Linked DNA regions of Homo sapiens: all the other regions are linked to region 3. Evidence: promoter capture Hi-C in 16 types of primary human blood cells and fetal thymus (Javierre and others, 2016). All regions are on one chromosome and are shown on one strand. The core of a region is centred on a gene start or on the middle of the fragment in contact, and the rest is flanking DNA. Distances in the headings are between cores, read along the strand shown. Region 1 holds the start of RUSF1 (RUS family member 1). Region 2 holds the start of ITGAD (integrin subunit alpha D). Region 3 holds the start of ZNF267 (zinc finger protein 267).

What was found. Contacts are between HindIII fragments. The CHiCAGO score rates a contact against its expected background, and 5 or more counts as called.
Region 1: a contact is called between the fragment with the promoter of RUSF1 here and the fragment with the promoter of ZNF267 in region 3, in 12 of 17 cell types (megakaryocytes, naive CD8 T cells, M0 macrophages and 9 more). The highest score is 12.4, in megakaryocytes.
Region 2: a contact is called between the fragment with the promoter of ITGAD here and the fragment with the promoter of ZNF267 in region 3, in 9 of 17 cell types (monocytes, megakaryocytes, M2 macrophages and 6 more). The highest score is 6.7, in monocytes.

Annotation. Positions count from the first base shown.
Region 1 is chr16:31,506,092-31,509,987 of GRCh38, reverse strand. It overlaps RUSF1 (RUS family member 1), which reads left to right and starts at 1,597. Exons shown (of 13, transcript NM_022744.4): 1 at 1,597-1,914; 2 at 2,110-2,224. The coding sequence starts at 1,615. It overlaps RUSF1-DT (RUSF1 divergent transcript), which reads right to left and starts at 1,524. Exons shown (of 2, transcript NR_186401.1): 1 at 952-1,524; 2 at 422-815. RefSeq lists enhancers at 1,047-1,616, 1,181-1,895, 1,896-2,611 and silencers at 1,717-1,766, 1,827-1,886. The HindIII fragment of the contact is 29,640 bases long and covers 1-3,896 here.
Region 2 is chr16:31,391,625-31,395,492 of GRCh38, reverse strand. ITGAD (integrin subunit alpha D) reads right to left here and starts at 2,158. Exons shown (of 30, transcript NM_005353.3): 1 at 2,102-2,158; 2 at 1,152-1,257. The coding sequence starts at 2,132. The HindIII fragment of the contact is 1,676 bases long and covers 2,075-3,750 here.
Region 3 is chr16:31,871,793-31,875,563 of GRCh38, reverse strand. It overlaps ZNF267 (zinc finger protein 267), which reads right to left and starts at 1,757. Exons shown (of 4, transcript NM_003414.6): 1 at 1,595-1,757. The coding sequence starts at 1,597. RefSeq lists silencers at 1,476-1,555, 1,706-1,755 and an enhancer at 1,642-1,936. The HindIII fragment of the contact is 12,710 bases long and covers 1-3,771 here.

The sequences.
Region 1 (3,896 bases), core at 348-2,847, 370 kb after region 3:
CCCTTGTTTGTTTTTGCTCACTATCCCAATGAGCACATAGGTAGCAACAGGTATTTGTAGAAGAAACTGGCAAACCATTGGTAAAAAAGAGATAACAAACACGGAGTTAATGACAACTGCACGGTTCAAGCGATTTTCTTGCCTCCGCCTCCCGGATAGCTGGGATTATGGCCACACCACCCCCACGCCCAGCTAATTTTTGTATTTTTAGTAGAGATGGGGTTTCAACATGTTGGCCAGGCTGGTCTTAAACTCCTGACCTCAAGTGATCCACCTGGCTCGACTTCCCAAAGTGCTGGAATTACAGGCGTGAGCCACCACGCCCAGCCCAAGGATCACTTTTGAGGCCAGGAGTTTGAGAGCAGCCTGGGCAACATAGGGAGGCCCTGCCTCTATTTAAATAAATATGTTTTTAAAGTACTTAGTCTTCAAACCTTGTTTTATTTTTGTCCTCTATTCAAACCAGTACCTGAATTTAGACAACATTACAGAAATGTTGTGATTAGGCCATTTGTATTTTGAAACCCGAAATTTAAAGAAAAAAAAAAAGAAAAGAAAAGAAGTGTTCAAGTTTATCTCAGTCAGAGAGAGACTGTGTTTGTGTGAGATAAGGCGAAGTGGGGTAGAAGGGCCTTCCAGGATTAAGTCCACGAGGAAGGTGACGGTTTGGGAGAATCTGAAGTTTCAAATAAGGAGTTGTCGGTTGGGATCAAACTGTGGGGATCCAAGAATGCCAGGCTAAGAAACCAGGATATTTTATTTTCTGATAAAAAGAGGATGCTTTTTTGGCAAATTTCTGCTTCGGAGTGAAGATGCTGCACTAGATGGGAAGGAGAAGAGGAGAAATGGAAAGAAGAAAAGGTGAGTTCCAAGGACAGAAACACTCCCTCTTTGGACTCCCCCCAATTTCATGGACTCTCTCCCGCAAAAAAACACACAAGAACTTCCTGCCTTGTTTCCTTGTTTTGTGACATCATTGCAATCTCTTGATTTTTTTCATCCCTCGGATTCCTTAGCATCCTTCAAAAGTAATGTTCCTGCAGTCTCGCAGAAGGCCGAAGGATGGAGAATTTCTAGTCCAGGCCAGGGACACTCAGAAGAGAGAAAAAAAAAAGAACAAAAAAAGACCCAAGCAGCTTCACAGGGCCTCATCTGGTCCAATTTCTTCTCATGATGCATTCATTCACTCATAAATATCTTTTGAGCACCTACTATGTGTTGGGTAGATCTAGGGATAAAATCAGGGTTAAAAATACAGTCGCTGGTCTCACAGCAAAAAAGGCACCTGAGGCCCAGAGAGGGCCACTGACTTGCCAAAAGTCACAAGCTAAAACTTCTGTGGCCGAACCGCGTCTCGAACACAACTGGCGGAGGCCCACGGCGCCTGCAGCCCAGCTGCAGAATGCTACAAAGCAACGGGGGCCGGTGCCGGGGCGTCCGAAGCAGCGCCGAGGCCGGAGAGAGCGACAGTCAGTTTCCTAACTGCGCGGCGGACGCCGAGGCCGGCGCCTGTTCTTGAAAGATGTCCCTCTGCAGCCGCGGTAGCCCAGCCGGAAGTGCCGCCTGCCACGTCCACCGTGCGGCAGGGGCGGGGCTGGGATCCAAAAGCTCGGCATGGCTGACGACGCGGGTTTGGAGACCCCGCTGTGTTCCGAGCAGTTCGGCTCCGGGGAGGCACGGGGCTGCCGCGCCGCCGCGGACGGGAGCCTGCAGTGGGAGGTCGGGGGCTGGCGCTGGTGGGGGCTCTCCAGGGCCTTCACGGTCAAACCTGAAGGACGAGATGCGGGCGAAGTGGGGGCTTCCGGGGCCCCCTCACCGCCCCTCTCCGGGCTCCAGGCCGTGTTCCTGCCTCAGGGCTTCCCTGATAGCGTCAGCCCGGACTACTTGCCCTACCAGCTGTGGGATTCCGTGCAGGTCAGCTCGGTCGTCTGGGGCAGAGGACAGTGCAGGCCACTCCTCCCTCCCCAATAATGGACGGGTGACTGAGACTCGGAGCCCGGGGGGCGGGGGGTCTGACATGCCTCATACACCAAGAACAAGAACAGATGAAGGCACTTAGACCGCCACGCTCCTACGCCCGCTTCTCACCCTACTTGTTTTCTTCTCCAGGCGTTTGCTTCCAGCCTCTCCGGCTCCCTAGCCACCCAGGCAGTCTTGCTGGGCATAGGGGTGGGGAACGCAAAAGCCACTGTTTCAGCTGCCACGGCCACCTGGCTCGTGAAAGGTGAGCTGCACCCCTGGAGCCTCACGTATTGCTGCTTTCAGCCCTGCTTTCGCTGGGCTCTTATGTGTATATATGTATGGACTCGTGCCCCATTAGGTAGAATTCAGGCAGGTCTCCCCAGTGATTAGAGTGGTGCTTTGTAACCCAGTCTTACTTCCCACATCTGGAAGACCCTCATCCCACTCACCAGCCTAGCAGCCGCACTCCATTCCCCACACAGACTTCTGAGTCTCAATCATCTGGATCCCAAATCCCGTCCCCTCCCCTTTATCCCTATTCTCTTTGTGGAAGATTGCATAAGAATGCAATTGATGGAATAAAACTGCCAGCTGCCCAGGATAGGGGAAATTGGTGAGCTCCAGAAAAAAAAGATATAGTTGGTCCTGAGAAGGAGAGAGGAGAGCCTGGAAAGAATGGAAGGTATTGTGTATGCTCTGGGATACCAGATGATGCTGTAAATAATAGAGTGACTATCTGCTGAATATGTACAGCTTTTAAAAAATTGTTTAAGGAAAAAAAATACAGTTTGGTACCATGCCACCCAGAGAGGGAAATAGAACAGAAAAGGGAAATTGTTACATGTTCTACACGAGGAGGCCCCATGGCTTTTGCCACTGTCCTTTGTCTTTCACTACTGCTCGCAGGGGATATTTATTAGGCTGGTGCAAAAGTAATTGCGGGGTTTCTTTGTCGTTATTGCCATTAAAGGTAATGGAAAACCCGCAATTACATTTGAGCCAACCTAATAGATCTAAGGAAAAGCGCTTTCCATTCGTAGCATCAGTCTGGCCACATCCCTTGTGAGCCTCTCTGGATTTTTTTGAGAAAACAGGAGCTTCCTGTTTACACCTTTACCATTAAGACTGAGAAAACTGGGCCGGGCACGGTGGCTCACGCCTTTAATCCTCGTACTTTGGGAGGCTGAGGCATCCTGGGCAACATAGGGAGACCCCCATCTCTATTTTTTTTTTTCCAGACTCGTAGTCTCACTGTCACCCAGGCTGGGATGCAGGAGTGCAGTGGCACAATCTCAGCTCACTGCAGCCTCCTCCTCCCGGGTTCAAGCGATTCTCCTGCCTCAGCTTCCCAAGTAGCTGGGATTACAGGCATGTGCCACCCTGCCCCGCTAATTTTTTGTATTTTTAGTAGAGACAGAGTTTCACCATGTTGGCCAGGCTGGTCTCGAACTCCTGACTTCGGGTGATCCATTCGCCTCAGCTTCCCAAAGTGCTGGGATTATAGGCGTGAGCCACTGCGCCCGGCTTGTTGGCCGTATTTTTGGAATGCATTTGGAGCTTGGGTCAGTAGTTTTTGTTTTCATGTGATGTCACCAACATGTTGCCTATACAGATTGAATATCCCTTATCCAAAATGCTTGCAACCAGAAGTGTTTTGGATTTTGGAATTTTTTTTGGATTTTGGAATATCTTCATGTATATAATGAGATTTGTTGGGGATCAGACTCAAGTCTAAACATGAAATTCGTTTATGTTTCATATATACTTTATACACATACCTTAAAGGCAGTTTTATACAGTATTTTCAATGGTGTGCATGAAACAAAGTTTGTGTTCATTGATCCATCAGAAAGCAAAGATGTCACTGTCTCAGCCACACGTGGACAATCTGGTTGGTTAGCGTCCCCATCGTTCCTGACTCTGAATGTATATGC
Region 2 (3,868 bases), core at 909-3,408, 480 kb after region 3:
CCCAGCTCATGCCAGGGGCGGAAGGTAGCAGCGGTCATTGCTCCCACATGGGTGGGGGAGCCAGCAGCTGATACCCCTTCACCACCCTTCAGGAGGCGGTGGGAGGTGGGGCTGCTGCTGAGCTAAGGCTCCAAACCCCCAGTGCATCTCCCTTCTCCCATGACTTTTTTTTTTTGACGGAGTCTCACTCTGTCACCTAGGCTGGAGTAAAGTGGCACGATCTCGGCTCACTGCAACCTCCACCTCCCAGGTTCAAGCGATTCTCCTGCCTCAGCCTCCCAAGTAGCTGGGATTACAGATGCCTGCCACCATGCCCGGCTAATTTTTTTTGCATTTTTAGTAGAGATGGGGTTTTGCTGTGTTGGCCAAACTGGTCTCAAACTCCTGGCCTCAGATGATCTGCCCGCCTCAGCCTCCCAAAGCGTTGGGATTATAGGCGTGAGCCATGGTGCCCAGCCCTGCCATCATTCTTTACTTGCAAAACACAAATGCACAGATAAAATTTTTAAGAATTGGCAAGACAGGGTGGCTCACACCTGTAATCCCAGCACTTTGGGAGGCCAAGGCAGGAGGATTGCTTGAGCCCAGGAGTTCAGCCAGTCTGGACAACATAGCAAGACTCCATCTCTGTAAAAAGTAAAACAAAACAAAACAAAAAACAGGCATGATGGCATGCACCTGTGGTCCCAGCTATTCAGGAGGCTGAGGTGAGAGGATCACTTGTGCCCGAGAGTTTGAGGCTGCAGTAAGCTGTGATTGCACCACTGCACTCCAGCCTGGGTAACAGAGCTGGAGTAAAAATAAAAATAAAAATAATCAGGAATTTCAAGAGGTCAAGGGCAGAACATTAAACTCCAAAGTTAATGAGTGTGGGCCCTGTGTGACCATACTGGCCCCAAGAAGTGGGCCCTGCCTGGGAGGCAGGTTCAAGGCTTCCCTCCCGAGGTAAGGTAGGGTCTTGTCTAGAGTTTTGTGGCCTTTCCTGGGATTGAGAATAATAGGTGCTGATGTCAGGGCCTCCAAGGAGCCAAGGGAAGACTTCTCACCCCTGCTGGCCTTCCTCCAGGACACCTCCCTGGGGTAACCCACGTGTACCCATCCACAGGACTTGATGTAGTGGAGGTTGGGGAAGGAGGGTGAGTGGGGCCTACCGAGATCCACCGAACTGCACCACGCTCTGCCCAAAGCCGCCTGCATCCTCCTGGAAGATCGTAGGCTCCTCCACATCCAGGTTGAATCCATGATAAGAAGCCAGGACTGAGGAATATTTGGTGGGCGGGGAGGCTGGGAGTTAAAGAAGCCCCAATCCCTAGGACCTCCCAGCCTCTTTTTCTTTTTTTTCTTTTTTTTTTTTTTTTTTTTGAGATGGAGTCTCGCTCTGTTGCTGAGGCTGGAGTGCAACGGCACGATCTCAGCTCACTGCAACTTCCGTCTCCTGGGTTCAAGCGATTCTCTTGCCTCAGCTTCCCAAGTAGCTGGGATTACAAGTGCACGCCACCATGCCCGGCTAATTTTTATATTTTTGGTAAAGATGGGGTTTCACCATGTTGGCCAGGCTGGTCACAAACTCCTGACCTCAGGGGATACGCCCATCTCGGCCTCCCAAAGTGCTGGGATTATAAGCATGAGCCACCGCACCCAGCCAAGCCTGATTTTTGATGGCACGTGAATGTGACTCTGATGCAGTTTTCAGCAGGGGGCCTCTTCCCTACGTGCAGTCAGGACTTGGGGGAAACAGGCCCAGGGAGGTGATGTCCAACCTTTCCCCCTCCCTGGTGGCTTCTGTGGCCTTCCACTCCCGGGGGAGGCTGGGGAGACCTCTGTCACCCACACCAGGGACTCCATGAGTGGGAGCAGGGAAGCCTGGGACAACATAGCCAGCTGGAGAGGTAGCTTAGTCGCCACCTGAGCACAGCCCCTGAGCCCCTCTTCATTCAGGTCACACTCTACTGACTCCGGGCCACTCGCACATGAAGCACTCCCCTGCCTCAGCTCCTCATAAGAGTGGTTGGAGCCGACCACCAGCCCCCAGCCTGCCCTCCCAGATGGAGTCCCCTCAGAACTCCTCCAAGCTTCTCCCCAGCACCCTGGCCCCACTTACCACTCAGAAGAAGCACAGTGCCGAAGGTCATCCCTGAGCAGCGCGTTGAGGGGAAGTGGAAGGTTGGGGACAGAGCACAGAAGGTGCTCACCCTCCCAGGGGGTAGTTAAAATAATGATTCAGGGCCTCCACACAGCAGGAAGAGGGGCACAGTGGGTAGGAGGGGCGTGGTTAATTATGGAACAGAAGTGGGGGCAGGGGCCAACAACACCCTGGGGAAAAACCCTCATTCTGTCCCCCTCCACAACCTGCAGGGACCTGGCTTCCTTCTCCCAGAAGACCACCCTCCCCCAGGCCTCAGGAGCCAGTTGGTACCCAGGGAGCCCCGTAGCTCTCTGAGGTCCCACAGGAGTGGAAGGACAGGAAGCAGAATGGCTGCAGAGGTCTTGGCATGTGGATGTGAGCCGGCAGAGAGGCAGGGAGAAGGGGAGCTAGGCCAGGGTGTGGTTTCAAAAAGCAGAGCCCCTCCAGAGGAGAATGGACACCCAAAATAATAAAGTCATGCCATGGGCTACTACTCAGCAAGAAATAAGATCAAACTACAGATCAGATGCCATGGCTCATGCCTGTGGTCCCAGAGCTTGGCAGGTGGATTGCTTGAGGCCAACAGTTCGAGACCAGCCTAGGCAACATAGCCAGACCCTGTCTTTACAATAAATAACAAAGAACAAACTGCAGTTCTGTACAACAATACAGGTTAACTCAATTTTATCTTAAGTGAAAGAAACCAGACACCAGAATGCCTAATGTCTGGTTCCTTTCATATACAAGAGAATGGGCAAAATTCATCTACGAAGATAGAAATCAGAAGAGTGGTTGTCTATGGTGGGGCAGAGAGGAAACTTTTTTTTTTTTTGACAAGTTTTGCTATGTCGCCCATGCTGGAATGCAGTGGCATGATCAGGGCTCACTGCAGCCTCAAATTCCCAGACTCAAGCAATTCTCCCACCTCAGCCTCCCAGTCACTGGGATTACTGATGCACACCACCATGCCCAGCTAATTTTTTTGTTTTTTGTAGAGACGAGATCGCACTATGTTGCCCATGCTGGTCTCGAGCTCCTGGACTCAAGCAATCCTCCCACCTCCTCCTCCCAAAGTACTGGGATTACAGGCGTGAGCCACCACATCCAGCCAGGAACCTTTAGCATGTGTTAAATTTAGCATTTAACACAATATTTTAATATTTATTACATGGGGTTGGGGAGAAGATAAATGAGTGGTTGTTATTTATTTTCTGTGATTTTTCTGTATGTTTGAAATATTCCATGATTAAACATAAAAGTTCCTTTAAAATGTGAAAAAGAAAAAGGTCTATATATAAAAGGCTAGGAATAGGCCAGGCGCAGTGGCTCACACCTATAATCCCAGCACTTTGAGAGGCTGAGGTGGATGGATCACCTGAGGTCAGGAGTTTGAGACCAGCTCTGGCCAATATGGTGAAACCCCGTCTCTACTAAAAATACAAAAATTAGCTGGGCATGGTGGTGCGCACCTGTAATCCCAGCTACTCAGGAGGCTGAGGCAGGAGAATCGCTTGAACCCAGGAGGTAGAGTTTGCAGTGAGTCAAGATTGCGCCACTGCACTCCAGCCTGGGCGACAGAGCAAGACTGTCTCAATAAATAAAAAATAAAAAATAAATAAAAAGCTTAGGAATATACTTTGAAGGTTAAAATATAACAAGATCCCTACCTATAACATAAATTATTTTGTATATATATGTGACAATTATTTAAAACATTTGGCTGGGCACAGTGGCTTATGTCTG
Region 3 (3,771 bases), core at 508-3,007:
GTTTTTTGGTCCTTTGGGAGTTTTTCTCCCTTCACAAATCTGAATGAATCTAGGGGGCAGGAATCATTTGTGACTGTTTCCCCTCAATACCAGCAAACGATTGGCTGACCAGCAATGTGTCTCCAAGGGATGAAAACTAGCTTTGAAGAAATAAAATCCTTATGTCCCAAGGGGTTATCTTTTTAGGTTAAGGGTGTCCCAGGAGATTTCTCTCAGCCCCAGGGCATCCAGCTGCTCCCCTGAGGGACTACATTTCCATACCTTGGGCGGTCCTCTAACAGGAGGTGACCTGGGGCTGACAGTCACTAAACACTCCAGGAGACATGGCCACTGTGGGCATCTTGAGTCATCCCAGACAGTTCTGAAATTCAGGAACAGGAAAAGACTGGATAGAGGGTGGCTATACAGGGCCCTGTAAAGTTTCCAAAGCAAAACCTCAAGTCAAAAGACATTCTTTCCGATAACGTGTCTGTGCCTGGGGAAGATGAATGAAAAAGAGGCACAGTTTTTTTTGCAGTGGAGTGTCAGGGATTTTTTATTCTCTGCTTTCCTCTCACGTGAAATGTATGCCAAAAAAACACAAATCTTTAAAAAAGTGTCATCCACTGCTCTGTGAAATCATGATTAATGAGTAAAATACTGTCTGAAATGTACAATAAATGACCAATAGTTAAGAATGTGAACTGGAGAGGGGAAGTTGGCCTTTGGAAATGTCGGGAAGGAACTGGAAATTTAATATTTTATTGCAAGCCCAGTTAGACTGGGGGAACACAGTGGTGGACTTGAGACTCTGCGTGCTACACGTTAGGAAAGCGCAGGGGGAAAACCAGTTCCCCTGGGCAGTGTTAAGATGATTAATGAGCAGGCGATTATACGGAAGTGGTTATAGTGCCCCAGGTTTCTAGGGAGAAAAACCAAAACCAAACTCAAATGCTTTTCTTGTAAATTACAACTTTAGGGGAAAACAAAATTCAGACTTAACGAACCACAAAGCTCCAATTCACCTCCACCTGCATAGTCTAAATAAGGCAACTACAAACTGTAACCCATCGGTTAATTTGGTCTGCTTCCTCATGCACCTTATAAAAACCTTTCCTTCAAGCCCCTCTGGGGATCTCCGAACCACAAACCAGGACTGCAGGCTTCCCATGTCACAAATCGCTATTTGCTCAAATTCTTCAACGTTTTAACAGTGACTCCCTTTAATTCTTAAGAGGAGTAGTGACTGAGGACCCCACAGGGCACGGTTTCTTCCCACACACCGAACCTGGGTCTCCCCTGAGACGCTCCCGTCCTCACCGCACAATCTGGGGGAGACGCGGGGCTGCGACGCGGAGCTGCCCAGAGAGGGCTCCGGCCAGGGACGAGGTCGCTCTGCGGGGTCGGGATGGGACAGGACACGCGGGGTCCCGGCTGCCGGCCTGGCCGCCATCTTGCAGCGGAGGGGACCGAGGGCCGAGCTGCACCAGTTGGGACTCGGGGCCCAGACCCCGAGGCTGACTGCGGGGAGGCCCGGGTGCCCCTACAGCGGGTTCCCGCCGCTTCCGACCACCGCCCTCCCTCCCTCTGGGGACCCCCGACCCCGCACACTCACCATTTCCCAGCTTCCGGGATGCCCTGGCGTCTTAGCTACGAATCTCCCAGTGCCTGCAAGTCGCAGAGCAACAGAGGTTCTGTTTATTCTCAGAACGCGAAGCCGCCTGGGCCTCCCAGAACGAAAGACTCGGAGCTGTGGCGAGGAGACCCGAGCTCTAACTGGAGCCGACGAAGGCCCCCGCCAAATCCCGGAAGCCGCCCCTGCTCTCCGGCTTCACTCCTGATTGGACGGTTTCCACTCCAGCGCCCCTGATTGGATAAAGCTCCATGCCCCGCCCCCTCATTATTAGTGCCTTTTTTTTTTTTTTTTTTGAAAGGGAGACTGGCTCATTGAGGTGGGGCCGCCTGCTGCGGGTATTACAGCTAATTAAGGGGTGAGCTGCGACTTGAAATACACTTGCTCTTTCCCTTACCTGGTTCTGCTTGTATAAGACATCTTATTAGCTAATTAAGTTTAAGAAGAAGTATATTTAGACACCTTTAAAGCAAGAAAGACCCTCATCCCGTCCCTTAGCACCTCTCTTACCGCACTGTACCCCACTGCTAACGCCACCGTGGGAGGGGGCCCCTCAGCTGGGAACAGAAGGCCGTACACTTCATTCACGTGTTTTCAATTAGGCCCTCGCATGATACATAGACTGAACCAGTGCAAAAGCATCTTATAGGGGCATGCAGGCTGGGGTCCCAGGAGGATGTTGCGGGCCGTGGTGGAACGTGGAAGAGGGGCTGGCCTATTCTTCTAATCTACAACTCTGCCCGCATCTCCTGGAGTCTGCATCACTGGTAACGGGGCCGCTGACTGTCCGTCTGTCTCTCCTTCTCAATCCCTTCAAGCTCAGGGAAGAAGGGTCCTTGGCAGCGACAGGGCTGGGAGCTCAGTTCCTCTGGGCCGTGCTGGCTCAGGCTCTGTGGCCACGGACTCCTCAGCCCTACCTCTGGTTTTTGCTTTTGTTTTGAGACAGGGTCTCACTCTATTGCCCAGGCTGGTGCAGTGGTGCAGTCATGGCTCACTGCAGCCTCCGGGGCTCAAGCAATCTTCCCACCTCAGCCTCCTGAGTAGCTGGGACTACAGGCACATGCCACCATGCCCGGCTGATTTTTGTATTTTTTGTAGAGATGAGGTTTCACCATGTTGCCCAGGCTGGTCTCCATCTCCTGAGCTCAAGCGATCCTCCCACCTTAGCCTCCCAAGTAACTGGGGCTACAGGTTAATAGTCAGTTCGCCAACTCCTGAGCTCAAGTATTCTGTCTGCTTTGACCTGCCAGAATGCCCTATTCCTGTTTTTCTGGAGTCTTGGAGCTAGTGGCGCTGCAGCACCTCGTAGTCTTCCGGCTGAGTAGATTCTCCTAGTCTTCTGGCTGAGTAGAAGGTGGGAGAGGAGGTGGGTGTCAAACTGGGCCAGGGCCCTCGGCCGCCATCTAGCTTGGTTAAACTCCCACTTGGGACAGATCAGGCTCTGTGCCTTATTCAGTGAGACGTGTGGAACAAATGCTTCCCTCCCCAAAGCAGAAACATCCCTGATTGCTGACAGTCAGGATTCCATGCACTTGTCTTGGCCTGGGGCATGGCTGCCTCTCACCCTCTCACCCAGTTCTAGTCGCTGCACTCTGTGGCCTCCCTGCCACCAGATTAGGTGTAGACAACGGGTGTGGGACAGGGCTGCTGACACCACTGGCTGACCAAACCCCTTTCCCACACTGAAGGGAGAAAAGACAGGAGGTTAGGGGCTCCCAAAGGCAGCACTGCTTGTGACAGCACCACGGGAGTCCTTAGGGCCTACTAAGGGGCTGGGCTGGAACTCAGGATCAACTCTGCCTGACTCCAAAGCCCATGCACCTCCATGGACCTCACAACTCAAGCAGCTTCCCTAGGCCTTTGAAATCCTGGAGATTGACTCTTTTGCGATAGAAGAAAGATTCCTTTTGATTCTCATCCTTCTAGTACTCTTCACAATTGGAAATAATCCCCACCAGAGAATGCTTCTGAAATGTCTTGGAAACATGTAGAATAATTTGGGAAAATGGCTGAAGGCTGAGTTTAAGAAATCAAGGCCTAACATTCTATTTTTCATTTCTTATAGGAGAGATTTGAAAGCACTTATAATGGACTCAATGTGTCTGCAAATTATTTTTGTCCCCTTTCAGTATTTGTAAGCTGTTGATGATTTTCAATAC